Linked DNA regions of Homo sapiens: region 1 is linked to region 2. Evidence: promoter capture Hi-C in human tissues and cell types (Jung and others, 2019). All regions are on one chromosome and are shown on one strand. Each heading gives the region's core, a stretch centred on a gene start or on the middle of the fragment in contact. The rest is flanking DNA. Distances are from core to core; before and after follow the strand shown. Region 1 overlaps COL5A3 (collagen type V alpha 3 chain). Region 2 holds the start of ICAM4 (intercellular adhesion molecule 4 (Landsteiner-Wiener blood group)).

What was found. The method cuts DNA at HindIII sites, captures the fragments that hold promoters and counts their contacts. A contact is called where the count stands out against the background at its distance.
Region 1: a fragment that was not itself captured here is called in contact with the fragment with the promoter of ICAM4 in region 2 in 1 of the 25 tissues and cell types used here (dorsolateral prefrontal cortex).

The regions. Positions count from the first base shown.
Region 1 is chr19:9,978,703-9,984,838 of GRCh38, reverse strand. It overlaps COL5A3 (collagen type V alpha 3 chain), which reads left to right. Exons shown (of 67, transcript NM_015719.4): 32 at 2,721-2,774; 33 at 3,707-3,751; 34 at 3,980-4,033; 35 at 4,147-4,191; 36 at 4,792-4,845; 37 at 4,947-5,000; 38 at 5,422-5,475; 39 at 5,600-5,707; 40 at 5,859-5,948. Among named protein-coding and RNA genes, the nearest start is that of COL5A3, 29 kb to the left of the region's middle. The HindIII fragment of the contact is 3,144 bases long and covers 1,814-4,957 here.
Region 2 is chr19:10,282,154-10,288,654 of GRCh38, reverse strand. It overlaps ICAM4 (intercellular adhesion molecule 4 (Landsteiner-Wiener blood group)), which reads right to left and starts at 1,700. Exons shown (of 3, transcript NM_001544.5): 1 at 1,249-1,700; 2 at 817-1,119; 3 at 135-669. The coding sequence starts at 1,642. The coding sequence ends at 551. ICAM1 (intercellular adhesion molecule 1) reads right to left here. Exons shown (of 7, transcript NM_000201.3): 3 at 4,869-5,174; 4 at 4,335-4,622; 5 at 3,998-4,252; 6 at 3,627-3,872; 7 at 2,040-3,540. The coding sequence ends at 3,368. It overlaps ICAM4-AS1 (ICAM4 antisense RNA 1), which reads left to right. Exons shown (of 1, transcript NR_186335.1): 1 at 1-2,854. It overlaps LIMASI (lncRNA inflammatory and mucous response associated, antisense to ICAM1), which reads left to right and starts at 5,205. Exons shown (of 4, transcript XR_007067138.1): 1 at 5,205-5,334. RefSeq lists enhancers at 1,573-1,712, 1,059-2,028, 2,083-2,132. The HindIII fragment of the contact is 9,158 bases long and covers 775-6,501 here.

The sequences.
Region 1 (6,136 bases), core at 2,136-4,635, 310 kb after region 2:
AGCGTGGGTGACAGAGGGGGACTCTGTCTCAAAAATTTTTTTAAAAAGTGAGCTTTGACATCAGACAGACTTGGGGTCAAATGCCCTCTTACCCGCTATGTGATCTTGGGAAAGTTTCTTGAGCCTGTTTTCTCTGCGGTGAAACAGACATCCCAGTAATTTCCACCTCATCAATTTGATTATAATAATGTTGATAATGCTGATGATGACAATGATTATAAAACTGTAGGATCCTTTTATTTGGTGTGATTAAGTTTCATTCACCAACAAAGTCAGTTAAAGGGGAGAATCATAGAATCATAAAATACACATCTTACATATCTTGAATTAATTATAACTTATAGTCAAATGTACTTATGCAAAAACGTACTTATATGAAAACATAACATTTGTTTGCCAATGTTTTGATGGGTGAGGACACTGATGAGATTCATTTTTCTGCCTAAACTATTCCCATATTATATCACTGATGAGTTCTGTTTCTCTAGAGTAGAGCAGGAACCTAAAGACATTTGGGGCTGGGCGCAGTGGCTCATGGCTGTAATCCCAGCACTTTGGGAGGCCGAGGCGAGTGGATCACCTGAGGTCGAGAGTTCACCACCAGCCTGGCCAACATGGCAGAACCCCATCTCTACTAAAAATACAAGAATTAGCTGGGTGCAGTGGCGGGTGCCTGTAATCCCAGGTACATGGAGGCTGAGGCAGGAGAATTGCTTGAGCCCGGGAAGCAGAGGATGCAGTGAGCTGAGATCGTGCCACTTACTCCACCCTGGGCAACAGAGTGAGACTCTGTCTCAAAAGAAAAAAAAAATAGACATTTGGGAAGATAATTGAGTGCAGAATCCTCCTAGAGTTTCACATTTTTGTGCTGTTGAGCTGATAGTTATCTTGCCTACGTTGGATTTGACAGTGGTTTTTTTTTTTTATTTTTTCAGTGATTTCCCTTTACATTGACTCCTTTTCCTTTAACTTAGATTTTTTTTTCTTTTTAACGATTGAGAAAAAAACTTTGAAGCTTAGTTTTGATGGACAACTTTATTCTCCTTCCTTCCTTCCTCCTTTCTTCCTTCCTTCCTTTCTTCCCTCCCTCCCTCACTGCGTCCCCCTCTTTTTTCTTTTCTTTTCCTTCTTTTTTCTCTTTCTTTCCTTCTTTCTTTCTTCTTTTTTCTTTCTTTCTTTCTGTCTGTCTTTCTTTCTCTCTCTCTCTTCTTTCTTTCTTTCTCTCTCTCTCTCTTTCTCTTTCTTTCTTTCTTTCTTTCTTTCTTTCTTTCTTTCTTTCTTTCTTTCTTTCTTTCTTTCTTTCTTTCTTCTTTCTTTTTGCTTGCTTGCTTGCTTTCCTTTCAGACAGGGTGTCACTCTGTCATTCAGGCTGGAGTGCAATAGTGCGATCATAGCTTATTACAGCCCCCAATTCTTGGACTCAAGCAGTCCTCCTGCCTCAGCCTCCTGAGTAGCTGGGAACAACAGGTGCGCACCACCTGATGAATTTTTAAATTTTTTACAGAGACAGGGTCTCGCTATGCTGCCCAGGCTGATCTCAAACTCCCAGCTTCAAGTGATTCTCCTACCTTGGCCTCCCAAAGTGCTGGGATTACAAGCATAAGCCACTGTACCTGACATAGACTAAGATTTTAGAAAGTCCTTGTGTGCATGTGTTCAGGATCCTTGAAGAGTGTTGGGGCCAGGTTGGTGGCTCACACCTGTAATCTCAGCACTTTCAGAGGCTGAGGTAGGAGAATCACTAGAGGCCGGGAGTTCAAGACCAGCCTGGGCAACATAGTGAGACCCCATATCTACTAAAAATTTATTTCAAAAATTAGCTGGACATGGTGGCGTGAACCTGTAGTCCCAGCTATTCAGGAGGTTGAGGTAGGAGGATCACTTGAGCCCAAAAGGTTGAAGCTGCAGTGAGCTATGATTGCACCACTGCACTCCAGCCTGGGTGACAAAGTGAGACTCTGTCTCTTAAAAATAAAACAAACAAAAAAAGAGTATAGAGACCATGGAACCCCCAGATGGGAAGGGAGAGTAGAGGGAGCCTGAAATGGGCTTTGAGGCGGGATGCCACCACAGACTGTGTAACTTGGGCAACTGTCTTTTCTGATCTGAACTCAGTCTGCACAGTGAGGTGTGGGAGAGGATATCAGAGCCTGTGATGTCTTCCCCCAGGTGGAGGAAGGGTTCCTCCAGCATGGACTGGAGTCAGTTAACAAATATTAAAAAGCACTCACCGTGTGCCAGGCAGTGGGGAATAAGACCAATGAGCTATGTCACAGTGGGGGAAAACAGGCATTGAATAAATAAGTCAATAAGGGTCATTTCAACGCAAGTGTTCTTGGGAAAACAAAATAGCATAATGTGACAGACAGAGGGTGACTTGGGCAATGTGGAAGCCAGGATGGTGGTAGAAAGGCATTCTAAGGAGGTGACATCTGAATGAGATCTAAATGGTCAGGAGTGGCTGACTTTGTGGAGGCCTAGGAGACAAGCATTTCAGCCAAAGACAGCAGCCAGTGCAAAGGGCTGCAGTGAAATGAGAAGGGAGGAGAGGAGGGGAGAGGAGAGAAGAGGGCTGCCTTGTAGGAGGCTGGGGCTGTAGAGACCAAGGAAGCTTCTGGAATCAGTGACCTGGAAATGCCTCAAAGGATGGTATGAGGGGCCAATTCCACCCACCACTCACTCCTCACCCTCATGTCTTCTTTCTAATTCTCTCCACTCAGGGATCTATTGGATTTCCCGGTCCCCTGGGACCCATAGGAGAGAAAGGGAAGTCGGTGAGTCATGACCGGGGGTAAGGGAGAGGGGAGAACTTGTCTGAGGGGAACAGCATGTGTGGTTGTGTCTGATGATGGGTGGACCCTGGGTGTTTGTGTCTATGCCTGGAACATTTGTGTGCACACATGCTATTATATGCAATGCATGACACATGTAGGTGATTACACATGGTATTATCATGAATATGACTGTAAGCACATGTATATGTGTTTCATGTATCTTTCAATATCGATGAGACAGGGTTTGAATGCCGCAGCCTGCAGGCCTGTGCCTGGGTGAACAAGGGCATGAATCTGCGTGCACTTTGCATGATGGTGGGCATAAATGTGTGCAAGAAGCTTGTACATATGCGTGAAAGGACATGTGTATACACATGTGTGTGTTTCTGTGCACACTGAGTGATGGGTATACATGCATGTATTGTATTTGTGTTGCTATGTGTGTATTGTAACAGTGTTAATGAACATTGTATGTACGTACATGAGTGTATGTATACTGCTGTGCTTACCAAGACAAAGTCCTCAGCTGAATCCAGGCCTTCATGTGTTTACAGTGGGTATACATGTGTGCAAGAGATGTATTGCATGATGAGTTCTGTGTCATCTTCAGGCTGTGGATTGCCAAATGCATGCCATGATTACATGCAATCATGTATGCATACTGCACAGCTGTGATCAATATATGTCTTGTGGGCAAACATGCTTGCACGTTTGTACTCTGTAGATGCAATCATAGTTGTAATTGTGTGTTTGAGATCTTTGTGTGGTTTTGAGTATAAGTTGTATTTGTGTGTATGTGTATGACTGAAAAGCTTGTGAATAAATATGTGGCAGACAGCTTTCTGGGTCTGTGACTGGGTGTCTTTTTGTGTTTGCGTCATACCTTTGCACCCTAACTCTCTTCTGCTTTCTCTCTTACAATTCATTTTCAGGGAAAGACAGGGCAGCCAGGCCTGGAAGGAGAGCGGGGACCACCAGTAAGAAAATAGACAGTGCCCCCTACCCTGCTGGGACTTGGGGACAGGGCTGGGAAGGAAAGGTAGTGGAGAGGTCATCTGTGGGCAGGGAAAGGGTTTGGGTTATATCAATGTCCCTGGTCGGGCAGGAGAGGGAGTCACAAGGGGAGGGGACCTGGAAGACTTGGTCTCATCTCCCAGGCTCCCCCACCCCCTCATATCTGATCTTTGCCTTTTTTTTTTGTTCAGGGTTCCCGTGGAGAGAGGGGGCAACCGGGTGCCACAGGGCAACCAGGCCCCAAGGTATGGGATGGGTGGGCAATCAAGGCCCCCCATGCCCCAGGCTCAGCCAGTCCCTCCAAATTCTTCCCAGTTGAGTTTGTTCTGGGGCCTGAGTCTCATTCACTCTGTCCTAGGGCGATGTGGGCCAGGATGGAGCCCCTGGGATCCCTGGAGAAAAGGTGAGTGTGTGTGTGTGTGTGTGTGTGTGAATGTGTGTGTGTGTGAGAGAGAGAGATTCTGAGTGGAGGACAAACCCAAGAGATGAAGAGACATTATAATGCAGTGGTAAGAGCACAGCTTAATTGGGTGTGGTGGTGCACGCCTGTAGTCCCACCTATGCTGGAAGCTGAGATGAGAGAATTGCTTGAGCCCAGGAGTTGGAAGCTGAAGTGAGCTAATCACACCACTGCACTCCAGCTTGGGTGACAGAGCAAGACTCCATCTTTAAGAAAAGAAAAAAAGAAGGAGCACAGCCTGTGAAGTCAGAGAGCCATGAGTTCAAGTCCTGGCTCTGCCACTCACCTACTGTGTGACCTTGGGCAAGTCACTTAACCACTCTGTGCCTTAGTTTTCTCCTCTGTAAAATGGGAGTAACCTCAGTCTCCAACCCAAAGGGCTACAGTGGTGAATAAAATGACTGACTTGTGGAGAATGCCCTGCCCATGCCTGGCATGCAGTAAGCACTCAATATGTGCTCGATCCTGTTGTCATTATGTGGGGCTCAGGGAGTGGGCAGGGAGGCAGGGGGGATGAGATCATGATTTCTGTTTCCATTTCAGGGCCTCCCTGGTCTGCAAGGCCCTCCAGGATTCCCTGGGCCAAAGGGCCCCCCTGTGAGTGAGGTCACCCTCATTGGGGGTTGGGTGGGTGGAGGATGTGGGAAGGGAGGAAGCCCTGTATCTGTGCCCCAACTTTTTCCCACCTCATCCCCCAGGGTCACCAAGGTAAAGATGGGCGACCAGGGCACCCTGGACAGAGAGGAGAACTGGTGAGTAACCCCTCAACCTTTGATTCCTGATCCTTTTTTTTTTTTTTCTTTTTGAGACAGAGTCTCACTCTGTCACCTGGGCTAGAGTGCAGTGGGGCAATCTCGGCTCACTGCAACCTTTGCCTCCCAGGTTCAAGCAATTCTCCTGCCTCAGCCTCCCGAGTGGCACTACAGGCGCGTGCCACCACGCCCGGCTAATTTTTGTATTTTTAGTAGAGACGGGGCTTCATCATGTTGACCAGGCTGCTCTCAAACTCCTGGCTTCAAGTGACCCACCTGCCTCTGCCTCCCAAAGTGCTGGGATTACAGGCGTGAGCCACCGGACCGGCCAGATTCCTGATCCTATCAGGCCTTCCCTGTCTCCTGCTCCTCCATCCCTTCCCCATGTAACACCGCCCCCACATTTAATTTTTCTCTCTAGGGCTTCCAAGGTCAGACAGGCCCGCCTGGACCAGCTGGTGTCTTAGGCCCTCAGGTCAGAGTGGACTCCATAAACCTCCCTTGTTTTGTACCAGTTGGGGGATATTTAGGGGAAAGCTGGACTCCTGAGCGACTCCCCTAGGCCACCCCCACTCAACAGGAGCCTTCTTCCTCACCAGGGAAAGACAGGAGAAGTGGGACCTCTAGGTGAAAGGGGGCCTCCAGGCCCCCCTGGACCTCCTGGTGAACAAGGTCTTCCTGGCCTGGAAGGCAGAGAGGGGGCCAAGGTGAGACACTGTCCACTGGAGATCTTGGTTGAACATCCAAGATCAACCAAGGACTCAGAATCAGTCTCATGGGGGAGGGGGCCCTGAGTCACAGATTGGAGGGAGACATCCCCTCCCTGGAGCTTGACTTCCCTCCTTTGCACTCCTGTAGGGGGAACTGGGACCACCAGGACCCCTTGGGAAAGAAGGGCCAGCTGGACTCAGGGGCTTTCCCGGCCCCAAAGGGGGCCCTGGGGACCCGGTGAGTATCTTTGGAGACCCTCCTGCATGTCCCTTAGAGAAGGAAAGGATGGGGGGGTCAGGGGAGGGATGGGGAATAGCATTTGGGGTGCGGGAAATGATGAAAGCAAAAAAAATGGTGGAGGGAACTGGGGAAGGCAGACCCCTCAAAGCTCAGTGTCCAGTCCCAGGAGAGAGGTGGGGACTGTG
Region 2 (6,501 bases), core at 451-2,950:
AGGAAACCTCAGGTGCCCTCAGGGAGACAAGGAACTTGGAGAAAGTGATCGCAAAAACAACAACAACAACAAAAACAAACCAGTTCCTCCGAAGAAGGGCAGTAATGCGGACCCTTAGGTCACAGGACAGAGGCTGGTTAAGGAAGCCTTTATTGATTCCAGAGGGTTCCCCCGCCAATATTTATTTTTATTTTTATTTTATTTTTGGAGACAGGGTCGTGCTCTGTCCCCCAGGCTGGAGTGCAGTGGCACGATCAAGGCTCACTGCAACCTCGACTTTCAGGGCTCAAAGGATCCTCCCAACTCAGCCTCCCGGGTAGCTGGGACCACAGGTGCGGGCCACCACACCAGGCTAATTTGTGTATTTTTTGCATAGACGGGGTCTCACTATGTTGTCCAGGCTGGTCTCGAACTCCTGGGCTCAAGCGATTCTCCTGCCTCGGCCTCCCAAAGTGCTGGGATTACAGGCGTCAGCCACCATGTATGGCCATTTCCCCAGATTGTTTCATATTCCTCTTTTTCTCGCTCAGCCGGCATAGAACATCCCCCTTTACGCCTGGGACTTCATAGCTAGGCACTTGCATAGGTACGCAGCGCCCACAGTGAGGAGGATCCCTACAAGGGCAGCGATGGAACCGGAGGCCAAAGCTGTGGGCGCGGGGCTCCAAGCTGGGAGCAGAAGGCGAGAATTAGGAACGGAACACAGGGAGGTCTGTCGACCCGCGTGGAGCTCACGCTTGGTCTGTGCGCCCTCTCGGGGTCATAACTCTCTCTGCCCCCTTCCTCCTAGTCCCCAGGGTTACAGGGGTGCCTCACCGAGCATCAGTGTAATGGGTGCCGAGCTGTTGCGGACCACCAGGCCGTCGAGATTGAGGCGCGCGTGGCAGATCACGGGCTGCCAGAAGTCGCGGGGTCCAGCAGCAAACTCGTAGGTCAAGGTCACGTTGGCCAGATCCAGGCCGGTGAAGCGCTCCAGGCTTTCGGAATAGATGACCCGGCTTCCATGCCTCAGGGTCACCACCAAGTAGCCCACCGGGAACACCTGCGTCACGTGGCAGCGCAAAGTGTATTTCCTGCCCTTTAAGACCGGAGGCTCCAAAATCACGCTGTGGGGCGGTTCTAAGGCAAGGGGGAGCCTCTGAGTGAGGTCCGCGGGCGCTCCCTATAGAGCGACTGTCAACTACCCTTCCCCCACCTCTTCCAGCCCCCTCCCCTCACCCCAGCCGGGACCGAGCCCCTGTCCCTCACTGTAGGCGGTGATCCTGGAGGTGGCCCAGCGTGTTTTTCCTGCGCAGGTCACGAGGCAGTGCGCGAGGGAGCTCCAGGCCCTCACGTCGAGCAGCTGGTAAGACACCCAACCCGGCCCTCTGAGCGTCTTGCCTTGCCGCAGCGGGGTGCGGAGGCTGGAATTCTGCGGCTGGGGACAGCTGTTGCTGCAATTGAGCTGCACTGACTTCCCCGGCTGCACAGCCACGAACTCCGGGCTCATGCGCACCCAGAAGGGCACTGAGGTCCCGGAGGGCGCGAGAGGGCTACCCTTGGGGCTTTGCGCCCGCTTAGTCCGGCGTCCCAGCGCGCTCCCAACTCCCGGGTAGGCGGCCGCCAAAAAAAACAGCAGCGACAGAGGGAACAGAGACCCCATGGCAAAAAGCCCGGACTAAGGGGCCCCGCGCCAGAGAGCCAGGGCCGGCTCTAGAGATAAGGAGGCCCGCAGCCCCGCCTCCTCGACTCCACCCTGGAGAGGAAGGGGAGGCCCCAACAGAGGGCCCGGGAGTACTGCAAAAAGGGATTCCGCTCCCCAGGTCAAGAATAAGATTCCAGGCCTCATTAGAAACCAAATGTTTTTTTCTGGAGAGGAGTCTTTAGTTTTCACTAGAGACCCAGAAGGTCATAGAAAGTCCGATTTGGACCAGAACCTCAGGGTATGGCCATCAACCCACAATGTTTTCTTGGGGGAGGAAGTGGGAGGATCAGGCTGTGGCTGCTTAGAAAGGACTCCAGCTGGATGTGACACCTCCCCTCAACTCACACAAGGCTGAGGCAGTTGAGAAAGCTTTATTAACTAACACAAAGGAAGTCTGGGCAATGTTGCGAGACCCCGTCTCTGGAAAAAAAAAAAAAATCAAATTTGCCAGGTGTGGTGTTGTGAGCCTATGGTCCCAGCTACTCAGGAGGCTGAGGTGGGAGGATCACTTGAGCCCAAAAGGTCAAGACTGCAGTGAACCATGATTGCACCACTGCACTCCAGCCTGGGTGACAGAGCGAGAGCTTGTCTACACATACACACACACACACACGCGGATGAGGCTTCCAAAGCTGGGAGGGAGTCCTCCAATACCTTGGCCCCCTTCCCCACTGCTTGCAGGACCCTGATCACTGCAGGAAACTGGAGCTGCATAGTGCAAGCTCCCAGTGAAATGCAAACAGGACAAGAGGACAAGGCATAGCTTGGGCATATTCCCTGGGCACTCATGTCCAGACATGACCGCTGAGTGTCATTGTGAACACTGGCAGAAATGTATGTGGGTGGGGAGGTGGCTAACAAAGGTGTCAGTTTTGGGGGGAAGGGAGGAATAAGGCCTCACTGGGTAATCTCTGAACCTGTAACCATTACCAGTCCATATAGTGCTTTTGTGCCGATAGAAAAATCACTCCTTCTGGGGAAAGGCAGGTTGGCCAATGAGAAGTCCCAGCCCCATTTGATCTTTTTGCCAGGCACTCTCCTGCAGTGTACAACCTGTACAACTGTACCTGGTGACCTTGAATGTGATTAGGACTGGGAGCTCCGTGAGGCCAGAGACCTATGTTCATTTAGCCTACATAAAAGACACTCAATAAATAGCTGGTAAAATAACAAATGAATAAATACATATCATCAAGGGTTGGGGTCAGTAGACAGCAGTGCCCAAGCTGGCATCCGTCAGGAAGTGTGGGCCTTTGTGTTTTGATGCTACACATGTCTATGGAGGGCCACTTCTTCTGTAAGTCTGTGGGGCCTCAGCATACCCAATAGGCAGCAAGTTTCAGTATTTCCCAGTTGTATGTCCTCATGGTGGGGCTATGTCTCCCCCACCACTTCCCCTCTCATCAGGCTAGACTTTAACATCCATCAATCATGTCTTGAGTCTTGCTCCTTCCTCTTGGCTTAGTCATGTGACTACAGATCAGATGCGTGGCCTAGTGTTTTAGGTGTGCAGGTACCATGGCCCCAAATGCTGTTGTATCTGACTGAGGACAATGCCCTGTCCTCCGGCGTCCCAGGGCCGGTAGGTGTAGCTGCATGGCATATGTCTTCCACTCTGTTCAGTGTGGCACCACTGCCACCAATATGGGAAGGCCGAGGAAGAGGCCCTGTCCCGGGATAGGTTCAGGGAGGCGTGGCTTGTGTGTTCGGTTTCATGGGGGTCCCTTTTTGGGCCTGTTGTAGTCTGTATTTCTTGATCTTCCGCTGGCGGTTATAGAGGTACGTGCTGAGGCCTGCAGTGCCCATTATGACTGCGGCTGCTACCACAGTGATGATGACAATCTCATACCGGGGGGCTGTGGGGAGGATACAACAGGCGGTGAGGATTGCATTAGGTCCATGGCCCCTGCCCCCACCCAGCTCTGCCCGCCGGCTCACTCACAGAGCACATTCACGGTCACCTTGCGGGTGACCTCCCCTTGAGTGCTCCTGGCCCGACAGAGGTAGGTGCCCTCAAGATCTCGAGTGACAGTCACTGATTCCCCGATGGGCAGTGGGAAAGTGCCATCCTTTAGACACTTGAGCTCGGGCAATGGGTTCCCCCAAGCCTGGCACATTGGAGTCTGCTGGGAATTTTCTGGCCACGTCCAGTTTCCCGGACAATCCCTCTCGTCCAGTCGGGGGCCATCTGGAAAAACACGATGAGATGACATGGAGGTGGGTGGGGGCAGGACTTGGAGGCAAGACCTTATGGGACCTTCAGGGAGATTGGGCCTTGGGGGATAGGGGCCATTGACCAGCAGCCCCACTCACACAGGACACGAAGCTCCCGGGTCTGGTTCTTGTGTATAAGCTGGCCGGCCACCTCCAGGGTTGCAGAGCAGGAGAAGCTGCGCCCGTTGTCCTCTGGGGTGGCCTTCAGCAGGAGCTGGGCCCTCGGGCCCAGTGGCTGGGCTGGAACCCCATTCAGCGTCACCTTGGCTCTAGGGTGGGCCTCACACTTCACTGTCACCTCGGTCCCTTCTGAGACCTCTGGCTTCGTCAGAATCACGTTGGGCGCCGGAAAGCCTGGAATAGGCACACAGTGAGCCCCGCCCCGGGTTCAGGTCACACCCCCAAGAAGCCCCACTCCGCCCCTGCCCCTTCTTACTGTAGATGGTCACTGTCTGCAGTGTCTCCTGGCTCTGGTTCCCCAGTATTACTGCACACGTCAGCCGCTGGGTGCCCTCGTCCTCTGCGGTCACACTGACTGAGGCCTTGGCCGAGAAGGAGTCGTTGCCATAGGTGACTGTGGGGTTCAACCTCTGGTCCCCCAGTGCCAGGTGGACCTGGGCCTCCGAGACTGGGAACAGCCCGTCCAGGGAACAGACCACGGTCCCCTGCGTGTCCACCTCTAGGACCCGGGGGCTGACAAGTTGTGGGGGAGTCGCTGGCAGGACTAGGGAGAGAAGAAAGGTGTGAGCAGACAGGGATGGACGTCCCGAAGCCCTTCTCTGGGGCATTTCATTCCCCCTCCTGCGAGATCCTCTTCCAGGGCCACTCAGCAGCCTAGGTCACATACGCCTAGAACACATGCACCCCTTAGCCGGGGCCACACCCATCTCAAAAGATCCTGTGGCCACAGGCACCGCATTGCAGGATACCCCACCCCCACCTTCTCCCTGCTGGCTTCTTCAATCCTCACCAAAGGTCTGGAGCTGGTAGGGGGCCGAGGTGTTCTCAAACAGCTCCAGCCCTTGGGGCCGCAGGTCCAGTTCAGTGCGGCACGAGAAATTGGCTCCATGGTGATCTCTCCTCACCAGCACCGTGGTCGTGACCTCAGCGGGCTCCCCCACAGCTGGCTCCCGTTTCAGCTCCTTCTCCCCACGGAGCAGCACCACGGTGAGGTTGGCCCGGGGTGCCCCACCCTCCACCTGGCAGCGTAGGGTAAGGTTCTTGCCCACTGGCTGCCAAGAGGGGAGGGGTGCCAGTTCCACCCGTTCTGGAGTCCCTGCAGGAAAACAGAGGTGGGGGTGTCTGGTGAAGTGGACCTTGCTGCCTGCCTAACAGACGAACTGCACCTGCCTGGGAGCCCTACCTCTTCAGTATCTCCCCCAAACACGCCCAGACACCTAAGCAGATAGGAATGTCAAGATCTTCAGTGAAAACTGGTAAGAGGGCCCCGAGTGTTTGTGAAGGGGATCAAAATATTCCTTATTCATGACAGCAGCATCTTAGAGTGAAAAGTGGAAAAGAACTTCAAAGTCTATTGCTAGGTGTCTGGTCAAATAAATTCAGCAGCCCAGTGCACTAGACTGGGCAAACAGTGGCTCGATCTTGGCTCACTGCAACCTCTGCCTCTGGGATTCAGGGGATTCTCCTGCCTCAGCCTCCTGAGTAGCTTAGATTACAGGCACACACCACCACACCAGGTTAATTTTTGTATTTTTATTTTTAATTAATTAATTAATTAAGTTTTTAGACTGAGTCTCCTTCTGTCGCCCAGGCTGGAGGGTGATGGCATGATCTTGGCTCACTGCAACCTCTGCCTCCTGGGTTCAAGCAATTCTCCTGCCTCAACCTCCTGAGTAGCTGGGATTACAGGCACGTGTCACCACACCCAGCTAATTTTTGTATTTTTAGTAGAAACGGGGTTTCAGCATGTTGCCCAGGCTGGTCTCGAATTCCTGACCTCAAGTGATCTGCCCACCCCGGCCTCCCAAAGTGCTGGGATTACAGGTGAAAGTAAATGAGCCTGGCCTAGACATTCTTTAAAAAACAAAACAAAACAAAAAAAAAAACCTGTTGGCCAGGTGTGATGGCTCAGGCTGTAATCCTAGCACTTTGTGAGGCCAAGGCAAGAGGGTCACTTGAGGCCAGGAGTTCAAGACAAGCCTGGGCAACATAGGGAGACCCCCATCTCTAAGAAAAATTAAAAAAAGGTTGGCAGGGCGCGGTGGCTCACGCCTTTAATCCCAGCACTTTGGGAGGCCAAGGAGGGTGGATCCACGAAGTCAGGAGTTCGAGATAAGCCTGACCAACAGAGTGAAACCCCGTCTCTATTAAAAATACAAAAATTAGTCTGGCATGGTGGTGCACGCCTGTAGTCTCAGCTACTCGGGAGGCTGAGGCAGGAGAATCTCTTGAACCTGGGAGGTGGAGGTTGCAGTGAGCTGAGATCGTGCCACTGCACTCCAGCCTAGGTGACAGAGCGAGACTCCATCTCAAAATAAATGAATGAATGAATGAATGAATGGTTAACTGGGTGTGGTGGTGCACACCTGTAGTCCCTGCTACTTGGGAGGCTGAGGCAGGAGGATCACTTGAGCCCAGGAGTT